Linked DNA regions of Homo sapiens: all the other regions are linked to region 4. Evidence: promoter capture Hi-C in 16 types of primary human blood cells and fetal thymus (Javierre and others, 2016). All regions are on one chromosome and are shown on one strand. The core of a region is centred on a gene start or on the middle of the fragment in contact, and the rest is flanking DNA. Distances in the headings are between cores, read along the strand shown.

Region 1 (2,704 bases), core at 38-2,537, 1.1 Mb before region 4:
TTAGCTTCAGAGGTTGGTTGGCCTTAAACTGAGGCAGGGGCTCTCTACCTTCGTGAACAGGTTCAACCTATGCCAGGGGGAAGAAGACAAGAGCCTTGAAGTGGATTAGGGAATGGGTGACTTGAAAGCCCTCTGTAAGCCCACCACACCCAGGAGCAGCCTGTGGCTTTGTAGAGAGGTGCAGGACCATGCTGGCTGATGAATCCCTAGGAATCTGCCTTTGAGTTGCAGAATCCAGGAACTGGAGCGCTTAATCCCCAAAGGCTGAAGGAGAGAGTCTGCCAGGGGGGTGGCTAAGCTTTTAACTCTCTGTGTGCTGGGCCAGAGCAAGGTGGAGTTCCGGGCAAGCAGAGTTGGGACTTTTTTTTTTTTTTTTTTGAGACAGAGTCTTGCTCTGTCGCCTAGGCTGGAGTGCAGTGGCATGATCTCAGCTCACCGCAACCTCCGCCTTCCAGGCTCAAGAGATCCACCTGCCTCAACCTCCCAAGTAGCTGGGACCACAGGTGTGTATCACTACCCCTAGCTAATTTTTGTATTTTTAGTAGAGACGGGGTTTTGCCATGTTGCTCAGGCTGGTTTCAAACTCCTGAGCTCAAGCAATCCTCCTGCCTTGGCCTCCCAAAGTGCTGGAATTACAGGCATGAGCCACCGCGCCCAACTTCGGAGGCCGCACCCAGCCTCAGAGGCTGGACTTCTGTCTGCAGTGGGAAGCTTCTCCTCACCTGGGCTCTTGGTTACTGTGTCACAGCCAGGCAAGCCAGAGCAGCTTGTCCCGAAGCCTTCTAGCCTCAACCCCTAGAGGCGACCCTCCAGGTTAGATAGCCAGAGAAGCCCAGCATTGCTTAGTGTGATATATGAACTGCTGTTTGCTAGAGGGAAAGCAGCTTGCCTTTAGTGGGAAGATGCTTTGGCTGGAATTAGGATGGCGGCTGCAGAACCTCTCTGGGGTAACCCAGAAGTCCAGCCCTGTGCGAGCCTAGCTAGATCTTGCTCTTTTTTTCCCCAGAAAGACACAGGCCCCTTGGTTTCCTGCATCACGTTTGGTACCCTTGCGATGATTCAAAGCAAACCAAGAAAAGCCTTTATTTTAAACGGCCCAGTGGATTTTCTCAGAGGAAATGACTCAGCCCTGACCCTTACCTACGAATAATTTGTGATCAATCTGATAAAAGATATGAGTAAGGGAGAGACAGTTATCATCAGGCAGTGTGCTGTTCAGGACAAGACATGGGTGCAGAGAGGCCAGGCCTGCAGCGGCAGGGTCAGGTCACATGCTGCCGGGAGGCTCCCTGGGAGGAGGGAAGGGGCCCTGCAAGGAGATTCTGACATTCTGCCACTGGAACTCTCGGGCTCACTCTGGGACCTTGAGTGGGGCCTCCATGAGTCTTAGGTCACTTTCTGTTCAATCAAAGGTTGGACAAAGAAGATTTCAGGCCAGGTGTGGTGGCTCATGCCTATAATCCCAGCACTTTGGAAGGTGGAGGCGGATGGATGACCTGAGGTCAGGAGTTCGAGACCAGCCTGGCCAACATGGTAAAACCCCGTCCTACTGAAAAAACAAAAATTAGCCAGGTGTGGTGGCAGGTACCTGTAATCCCAGCTACTTGGGAGGCTGTGGCAGGAGAATCACTTGAACCTGGGAGGCAGAGGTTGCAGTGAGCCGAGATCGTACCACTGTACTCCAGCCTGGGCAACAAGAGCAAAACTCTGTTTCAAAAAGAAAAAGATTTCAAAGATTTAACAGTCCAGCCCTAACATTCTATGAGTCTCTGATTCATAATTTCTAAATGGTGAATAAATGTTGAAAAATCAACTCCATACAGTAGGGTTTGAAATGCCTAATTAAAGATATCCCAAAGCTTTTTTTTTTTTTTTTTTTTTTGAGGCAGGGTCATGCACTGTCACCCAGGCTGGAGTGCAGTGACACAATCAGTTGGAGGCTCACTGCAGCCTCCAACTTTTAGGCTCAAGTGATCCTCCCACCTCAGCCTCCTGAGTAGCTGGGACTATAGGCACATGCCATCATGCCTGGCTAATTTTTTATAGAGATGGGGTCTCACTGTGGCCCAGGCTGGTCTTGAACTCCTAGCTAGGCTCAAGCAGTCCTCCCGCTGGGCCTCCCAAAGTGCTGCAATTACAGGCGTGAGCCACCATGCCCAGCGCATTTATCTATTATCAGGTCTTTTATCAGCTGCCTTAGATACAAACTGAATAAGCATTAGGAAGTCTGACTTCAGAAATGCTGCTTACACATTTATCACAGATGCCTAAATGGTGAACAGGTTGGCCCGCCACCTTGGTATTCACTCCTGGAGGGCTGGGGACTGAGTCTTATTTTTCTTATTTTCTTTTTTTTCTCCCTGAATGGATTTTACAGGCTTTGACACATACTTGGGGCATAAAAATGCTTATATGTGAAAGAATGCCAGAAAGGCATTATTTCTGAATTATTTCAGAAATCGCTCCTACACCAAGGCCAGGCACAGTGGCTCACACCTGTAATCCCAGAACTTTGGGAGGCCAAGGTGGGTGGATCTCTTGAGGCCAGGAGTTCGAGACCAGCCTGAGCATCATGGTGAAACCCCGTCTCTACTAAAAAAAACAAAAATTAGCCGGGCATGGTGGCGGGTGCCTGTGATCCCAGCTACTTGGGAGGCTGAGGCACGAGAATCACTTGAACCTGGGAGGTGGAGGTTGCAGTGAG
Region 2 (2,700 bases), core at 77-2,576, 1.2 Mb before region 4:
AACCCCAGCTTCAGTGGGCCTGAGGTGCAGCCAACACCTTCGCCTCCTAAGCATGACTCCGCCTTTCCTTTAGAAATGGGCTCCTCTGGAGGGGTCTGTGCCCTCCCCCAGAGAAGCCCTCCACCCCCACCTCCACCGCGAATACAGTAGGATCTTGAAGAAATCATTGCTTATTGATTGAGACCAAGGAGCAGCCTTCAGCCGGTACCAGGATGTGATTTGGGGGATTCTGATGGGAGGGGGGTTCGCAGGGAGCACCTGGAGGCCCGGAAACTGCAGGTTTTCCCAGGGGTCTTGATTGGCTGTCACTCTGAATGGAGATTTAAGGGTGCCCTTGCCATCTCAATCACCCTGACCCCGAGTTTAGACCAGGGTACTGTCCCTACCGTCCAGCCTTGCAACCCTCAAGGGCCTGTGTGTCAGGCGGGTCTTGGGAGGGGGGAGGCAATCAGGGCTTTCGAGGAAAGGAGCTGTCGTGGGCTGTGTGTGTGTGTGTGTGTGTGTGTGTGTATGTGTGTGTGTGGGGGGGGGGGGGGGGTCTGGGTCTGCCCTTGCCATAGAGATGAGGAGGTACTAGAATTTGAGTTTATCTTGTTCAGAATTATATTACTTTTCCCCAGAGGGTGCCCTTTCGAGGCAACCAAGGGAGGTTGGTTCTCTGCCCGGCCCTGGCCTTTGGCACTCTGTCTTGGCTAGGAGACAATGGGATGGGGGCTGATGACAGGGGAGAGTCCTATTCTATGGCCTGCATCAGTCTCAGACTGACTGAGCATTGCCCCTGGGGTTGGGGGCTGCTTGAGGGGCTTCATGTCTTTATTTGGGTTCCTATCTTTATTTGGAGAGAAATACCTGTTCATGGTTGGGCAGTGAGTGCCCAGAGGTTGGACCAGCATTCCTTGTCTGTCTGCCATGAAATCTCGCTTTCTTTGGGCATGTATTAGAACTCCCTCTCAAAAAAAAAAAAAAAAAAAAAAAAAAATCCTCTCTGCAGCTATGGGGGTGGAGATGTAGAAAACTAAGCAGTAGTTCTTTCCTAGAGGTGTCTGAGCAAGACCAGAAGACTCATCTGTCTGGGCTATGATTAGGAGGTTGAGGGATCTGAAGCTTCGAAACTCTACTTTAGTCCAATGGCCACTAAACCGAATCACCCTTGAGCATCCTCCCAGCCCTGCACCCAGGTTCCCTGCAAAGCTTGGCCTGCAAGGACAAGCTTATAGGACTCAGGGACCTCTGTCCATCCATCCCTCATTAATCAACAGCATTTATTTAATTCTCATAATTTCTATAGCAAGTGCTGGGTAAAGAACACAAAGAAACATCATCGAAGGCCTCCCTCCCTGCTTCTCAAGGCCCTTAGCATGAAAGTGAAGGATCCAGAGAGATACAGGCCGACTCAACAGTTAGCTATCAATACAGGCCTGGATCAGAAGGCCAAAGCTTTGAGGACCATGGGGGTCTGAGAAGGGACTGGAGTGCAGAGTTCAGAAGGAAGACCAAGACCTCAGTTGGCCCTTGGAGGTTGGGTGGGGTAGGCATTGCCTGTTGGGAGAATCGCAGGAAGAGGATGGGCAGAGTCCATTGGGTGAGGCTGAAGACATTTGGCTGGTACAGAGGTTTGAAATCAGGAAACATCGAGATGGTTGTTTGGGGCCAGACCAGCAAGTCCCTGAATGCCAACCAAGGCATTCTGACCCTGGCCCGTAAGCACTGGGAAACCTCTGGAGAATTCTGAGCCCTGGGGAGGTGCATCTATTGCCTCTTTCCTCTTTTAGCTTGGGGTCCAAACAAAAGTGATATTAGATTCTCATTAATCATTGAGCAGCCAAGCGCCCAATCCAGAAACAATCGTCTGCAGCTCTTTGTAAAGAGCACAGACCTGTGCCTGTGTAGCAAGGAGAACCTTACCCACCCTGGGGAATTGGTGTCTGCTTTTCATTCCTGCAAGAGGCCAAAAGTACTTTCTGTTCTGGCCATTAAATTCCCATCTCTGGTTTGAAGTCCTCGCTCTGGGGGCCTTTGGCTGCAGGCTTGACCTCAAACGCAGCCTTTCAGGAACATCCTTGACAGAGTCCAATGTCAGCCTTGGAGGTTTCTCCTGCTTACGCAGAGTGAGGAAAAGCAGATTATAGTTTACCTGATTCTGCGTGATTTTTTTTTTTTTTTTTGAGACAGAGTCTCGCTGTGTCACTCAGGCTGGAGTGCAGTGGTGCAGTCTCGGCTCACTGCACCCTCTGCCTCGCGGGTTCAGGCGATTCTCGTGCCTCAGCTTCCCTAGTAGCTGGGACTACAGGCGCGCGCCCCCAGCACTACCATGCCCAGCTAATTTTTGTATTTTTAGTAGAGACAGAGTTTCACCATGTTGGCCAGGCTGGTCTCAAACTCCTGGGCCCAAGCAATCCACCCACCTCAGCCTCCCAAAGTGCTAGAATTACAGGCGTGAGCCACCACACCTGGCCTCTGCATGATTTTTTTTTTTTTTTTTTTTTTTTTTGAGACAGGGTCTTGTTCTGTTGCCCAGGCTGGAGTGCAGTGGCGCATTCTCAGCTCATTTGCAACGTCCGCCTTCCAGGTTCAAGTGATCCTCCCTACCTCAGCCTCCTGGGTAGCTGGGATTACAGGCGCACACCACTACACCCAGCTAATTTTTGTATTTTTTGCAGAGACGGAGTTTTGCCATGTTGCCCAGGCTGGTGTCGAACT
Region 3 (2,700 bases), core at 199-2,698, 1.3 Mb before region 4:
ACACACACACACACACACACACGAATCACCAAATTGTTAGGCCTAAAGGTGCCATTCATTACTCCGAGTTTCAAATAACTTTTAAAAAATACATCTATGCCGGGTGCTGTAGCTCATGTCTGTAATCACAGTACTTTGGGAGGCCAAGGTGGGAGGCTTGCTTGAGGCCACGAGTTCGAGACCAGTCTGGGCAACATAGAAAGACTCCATCTCTGCAAAAAAGATAGCCAGGCTTGGTGGCGTGCATCTGTAGTCCCAGCTACTCGAGAGGCCGAGGCAGGAAAATCGCTAGGACCCAGGAGCTCAAGGTCCCAGTGTGTTACGATCTGCACTCCAGCCTGGGCGACAGAGGGAGACTGACTCCAAATGAAACCAAAAAAAAAAAAAAAAACAAACAAAAACAAAAACAAAAACACACCTAAATTGGAGTTTAACGGAAAACTTTTAACTTTCTCCAGCACTCCTGCTAAGCATCACACTTCTCTCTGCTTGCTGGTACCCTGGCTGACGTCTGAGCAGGATGGGACGCGCGGCTCAGAGCCTAAGATAAACCGAAAGTGTCTACAGGGCTTTCTACCAACAAATAAGCTCTGACGGGTTCCTTTGATGAGGTTTGGGAGGCAGGTCCCGGGAGGTGCCCGCGGACTCAGCCCCGAACTCCGGGACCTGGGCTCTGCGATCCTTGCAGAGGGCATGGGCAGGGGCAGAATGGAGAAGTGCAGGACGGGGAAGCCTGGGAGCTGGGTGGGGGCGGCCACCCATTGAGCCGGATCCGGCCAGGCGCCCACGCTGCGCCCCGCCCGCGGGGCTGCGCTTTCCCGGGCTGCGGCCGCAGGGCTGGTCAGTCCGGCGCTCCCGGGTCCCAGGCCCGGAAGGAGCTAACGGGCTATTCGCAGGCGGGCTGGGATTCCCCCGGGGGAGGCCCCACTGCCCGGCCCGCGTCATCCCCGCCCATCTCCACGGGCCGTCGCGGGATAGCCCCCTGCAGGAGCGGGCAGGGTAGTGGGCGGCGCTTGGCGGAGGGCAGCACGCTCGGGGCGCGCGGGGACTGCGGCCGAGGGGAGGAGAGGGCGGTGCGCGGGCGGGGGCGGGGCGAGCGAGGGCATATCAGGGCAGCCCGCCCAGGCCACGCCCCATCCAGGCCTCGCCCCGTCCGCACCCCGCCCCGGCCCTGCCTAGAACGGCGGGACCACGGTGACTGACAGGACTCCAGACCAGTCACCACGCGCCTCGAGGCCCCGAGAGGCTAGTCGGGGCCGAGCCAGCGGAGGGGCTCCTGAAGGGGCGGGGGCGGGCGGGGAAGCCGTTCGGCGAGGGGCGGGGTCTCTGGAAGACTGGCAGAACTCACAGCCAATGGCAGGCGGGAGCCGTCCCGTTAGCGCCGGATCCCCGCGGGTAGGGCGGGGCGGGCGGCGCCGTGGGGATCCCGGGGCAGCCGAGGGCCCCTGACTCGGCTCCTCGCGGCGACATGGATCGGATGGCCAGCTCCATGAAGCAGGTGCCCAACCCACTGCCCAAGGTGCTGAGCCGGCGCGGGGTCGGCGCTGGGCTGGAGGCGGCGGAGCGCGAGAGCTTCGAGCGGACTCAGGTGAGGACGGGGGACCCCGGGGCATCCCTGGGGCACCCTGAGGGACGCGGTGTCCGGGAGGGGCTTTGAAGGGAGTAGGAGTCTTGCAGGCCCCAGTTGAAGACGGGGCGAGGGTGTAGTGAGCGGGGGCATTGACGTGCAGATCTGGGCGATCCCAGGAAGGTCGGGGACCCCAGGGTACCCCAGCTGGCCTGGGGAGAAGGGCAGAGGCGGGCTCGGAGGAGATGGCAGGATGCGTGGCCAAGAGGAGCCTGATCGGCTGGGTACCGGGCAGGAGTCCCAAGATGAGGTGAGAGGGGAAGGAACTGAAAAGGGGCGGAATGGAAGGGTTGCCCCTAAACAAGGGAAGCGCACGGGAGCCACTTGGAGGCTCAAGTGTGGGGGCGGAGAGTGGGGGCGCCGGGCTGGGAATGTGAAGGGTGAGGGGACCTCTCTTCCCCTCCGATCACTTCTTGGTTGCATTGACATCCCTTCCCACCCCCCACCCCTTAGCATCCCCCTTTCTCGATGCCTCTTGCTTGGCTCTGGCCAGCCCCAGCTGTCAGCTCTGAGGCCGGGCGGAAGGGGTCGGAGCAGGGAAAAGGAATGTAGGAAATGCAAAGTGTGGCCACTTTGTGGGAAAATTACTTTGGGGGCTAAAGTGGAGACCATGGTGCCCCTGAGCCCTGACTTGGGGTCTTGGTTTTATCCCCCAAGATGTGCCTGACAGCTAATAGGCAGACTGCCCTATTTGTCCTGCCTGGCCAGGGCTTGGGGCCAAAATTCCTCAGTGTCATCAACAAAAAGCCACAATCCATTTTTTTCTCCGAGTTTTTAATGCCTGGTGTATTGATTGGGCTGAATTAAGCTGACATGTTGATGGTGTTCATCAATTCATTTGTATGTAAAATCCATTTCAAAGAGTACAACGCTTCTTTTAATCCCAGTGCCAATGCTGGAGGGGCAGATTTCTTCTACACTCTTGTGCTCAGAGTGGAACCTTTGAAGATCCATTTGGGTCCCCCTCTCCAGAGGCTGGTCCCCTGATGTGTTATGCGAGGAATACTTCCCCCAAACACAGTTGGAGGGAAAGGGCTTTGGGATTTTAGTTAGAAAAGACAGTGAGAATCTGA
Region 4 (2,700 bases), core at 1-2,500:
GGATGGGGACACAGGAGACTCCCACCGCAGGACCTTGGTCCTGGGAGGTAGGGTCACTAGGCCAGACGCCAGAGCTCCAGCCCCCTCCAGCACTGCCAGGAGGGTGGAACGAACTCTCAGCGGCACAGCGGCCCCCTTCCCTGGGCCCACGCCAGGCGAGGCAGGGTCTCACTCCCTGGCTGCTGGCCAGGGGTGAGGAGCCCAGGAGAGGTGTCAAGCCCATCATGCCCAGGGTACTTAGGATGGGGCGGGTGGGTGTTCAGCACCCTGTGGCCCCTCCTCTGTCCTCTCCACCCATCTGCAGGAACTCAGAGACCACCCACAGACCGAGTATCCCCAACTTACTCCTCTGAACCCTTTGTGGTCCCCCCACTGCCACCTTCTGAGTCCCCTCCACCCGGGATTCAGCGGCCACCACCACACAGGCCAGCCCCCTCCCCGGGGCCGGGGCGGGGGGTCCACTACAGGAACCACCCTGCTGGGGCAATCCTGGCTGGACTGGACTCCGCCTGGGAGTTGGGGGCGCGGGCCAGGGGCTGGCCCAGACCGGGAGAAGGTGGAGGGGGGAAAGGCGGGGACCGCGGCCTTCCCAGCCCCCTCTGCTCCCACCCCGGCGCCCGCCACCGCGGGCAGCGCGACTGACCTCATTCGCCAACTGCAGCAGCCTGCGGGCGCCGGCCCGGGACGCCCCCCACCTCCAGAAGAGCCGGTGGCAAGGAGGGAGGGGGTGACAGCTCCCAGCTCCCGGCCCCTCCCGGGCAGGTGGGGGGCGGCCGTCCCTCCCCTCCCCCCGGGCCCGAATTATAATCCCAGTCACGTGCCTCCCCGGGCACCCAAAAGCCGGCCCCAGCTCCTGTAACACCTTGAGAGGGGGAGGGGCGGGGACCCCCCCCCCCGGAGGCGGAGGGGATCGGGGGCGGGGGTGGGGGAGAAGGGGAGAAGGGCCTCGGTGCCCGCCCCCCGCAAAAGTTTCTCCTACCTTGGAGGATCCCCAAGCGCTCCTGCCAGCGGCGCCCCGGCCCCGGCCCGCGGCCAGGACTCAGCCTCCTGCCGCTGCCTCCTTAATTAATCCGGGAGAATGGGGGAAGGAGAGGCAGAGGGAGGCGAGGACGGCGGCGCGGCGAGGGCGGGGAGGGAGGCGCGGGGAGGGGGCGCGGGGGGGGAATCGGCCGGCCGGGGGGCTGGCGCTCGGCGGCCCCCACCCCCGGCGCGGGCTGCGGCGGAGGGCGGGGCGGCGCGGGGAGAGGAGCGGAGAGCGGGAGCGCGGGGAGGCTCTTTGTTCTGTAATCCCAGTAAGATTGCCAGCCATTCGCCCCGGCCCTAATCCCAGCCCCGCGCAACACCACCCTCCATTGGCTGCCATTTACATACGGGATTAGCCCGCCCCGCGCCCCGCGCCCCTGCGCACCCCCCTTGCTACCCAGCGCCCCTGCGTCCCGGGGACCTGGGCACCGCGGTGGGGAGAGCGCGCCGCACCCCTCGGCCCCGGACCTGCGGGGAGGGGCGGTGGCGCCCTCGGTTCTCCCCCACCAGCGCCGGATTAGAAAAGCCTGGGCGCGCCCCCGTCTACCCCCACCGCTCCCCACCACCACTGGGAGAGCAGCCGGGCGCAGGGGGCTGAAGTTGGAGGGTCAAGGTCACCCAGCTGGAACGCGCGGAGGCCCTGAGTGTCCCGGCTGGTCACTCCCGCCTGGCCCGGGTTCTAGTCCTAAGGCTTGGGCCAGGTACCTCTTACTCTTACAGCCTTTGTCCCCCTCCCACCCCTGAGATGTGCAGGAAGGCAGTGACAGGCCGAAAGTCGCAGCAGAGCCAACTGGACTCTTGGTCCCATCTTGTCTGATGGGACCTCCCTCTGATAGGCTTTTACCCCTGTCCCCCCAACCAGCCCCCCCGCCCCCCGCCCGCCCCGCTCCCACCAACCACACACACACCACAGCAGCGCTCCTACTGAATCAGTGCGCACGCCTCCCATCCGGCCCCAAAGCCATAAATCCTAATTCAGCACAAGGAACACAGTCCTTCCCCCACGTGGTGCCCTGATCCCTGAACTAGACCTTGGCTAGACTGGGCATGGCAGGGAGGGAGGGACTCACCCCAGGCAGGCCCCAACCCCAGGGAGCTTCTGGCTTAGAAGGACAGCCAAACATAGATCGAGAATCTCCCAGGTCCTGGCAAAACCCACAAGGTCTCCCCACAGCCTCCTGGCCAAACTGCCTTTGCAAAGATTAGGACAGTGACAGAAGTTTAGCGTGGCTGACTCCATCTTGCTTCCAGCCTCACGCGCTGGCTGTCTTCACTCATTCCGGGGCATAGGCCAAGCTAACCGGGGGAGGAATTTAGTTTATAGTTCAACTTTGAAACAAGGATGATAATAGTTACTCCTTAAACCTAACCTGCTTTTTATACAAGAGACCAAAACCACCTTTGTAAAACTAACGAAAGGCCGTGAGATTAGGATTATGGGAGGGGCCTGGACGCTGCTAAAACCTACGCATCGTTTTTATAATCTGACTGCTCAGGAGTCATGTGGCGAGAGATCACAAGATTTGTGAGTTCCCCACTTCCTCCTATAGATAGCATCTCTATTGTGGAAACTGAGATTGGTCTTTGGAGATGTTTTTCAGACTTTCGCATTCGGGCAACCGACTGACTCACCTGGACCTGTGTGACTCATGACTCAGCCCATCCTGTGGCCCCCAC

What was found. Contacts are between HindIII fragments. The CHiCAGO score rates a contact against its expected background, and 5 or more counts as called.
Region 1: a contact is called between a fragment that was not itself captured here and the fragment with the promoter of GTF2IRD1 in region 4, in 1 of 17 cell types (non-activated CD4 T cells). The highest score is 5.0, in non-activated CD4 T cells.
Region 2: a contact is called between a fragment that was not itself captured here and the fragment with the promoter of GTF2IRD1 in region 4, in 1 of 17 cell types (total CD4 T cells). The highest score is 5.7, in total CD4 T cells.
Region 3: a contact is called between the fragment with the promoter of HIP1 here and the fragment with the promoter of GTF2IRD1 in region 4, in 2 of 17 cell types (total B cells and neutrophils). The highest score is 6.3, in total B cells.

The regions. Positions count from the first base shown.
Region 1 is chr7:75,595,414-75,598,117 of GRCh38, reverse strand. The region is part of intron 2 of HIP1 (huntingtin interacting protein 1); the gene reads left to right. Among named protein-coding and RNA genes, the nearest start is that of SPDYE5, 100 kb to the right of the region's middle. RefSeq lists enhancers at 1,186-1,325, 2,240-2,704. The HindIII fragment of the contact is 1,148 bases long and covers 714-1,861 here.
Region 2 is chr7:75,635,816-75,638,515 of GRCh38, reverse strand. The region is part of intron 1 of HIP1 (huntingtin interacting protein 1); the gene reads left to right. Among named protein-coding and RNA genes, the nearest start is that of HIP1, 100 kb to the left of the region's middle. The HindIII fragment of the contact is 227 bases long and covers 1,213-1,439 here.
Region 3 is chr7:75,737,689-75,740,388 of GRCh38, reverse strand. HIP1 (huntingtin interacting protein 1) reads left to right here and starts at 1,448. Exons shown (of 31, transcript NM_005338.7): 1 at 1,448-1,588. The coding sequence starts at 1,469. RefSeq lists a silencer at 671-1,660. The HindIII fragment of the contact is 9,380 bases long and covers 1-2,700 here.
Region 4 is chr7:74,452,456-74,455,155 of GRCh38, reverse strand. It overlaps GTF2IRD1 (GTF2I repeat domain containing 1), which reads right to left and starts at 1,250. Exons shown (of 27, transcript NM_005685.4): 1 at 980-1,250. RefSeq lists silencers at 628-697, 1,200-1,549 and an enhancer at 2,435-2,700. The HindIII fragment of the contact is 10,217 bases long and covers 1-2,700 here.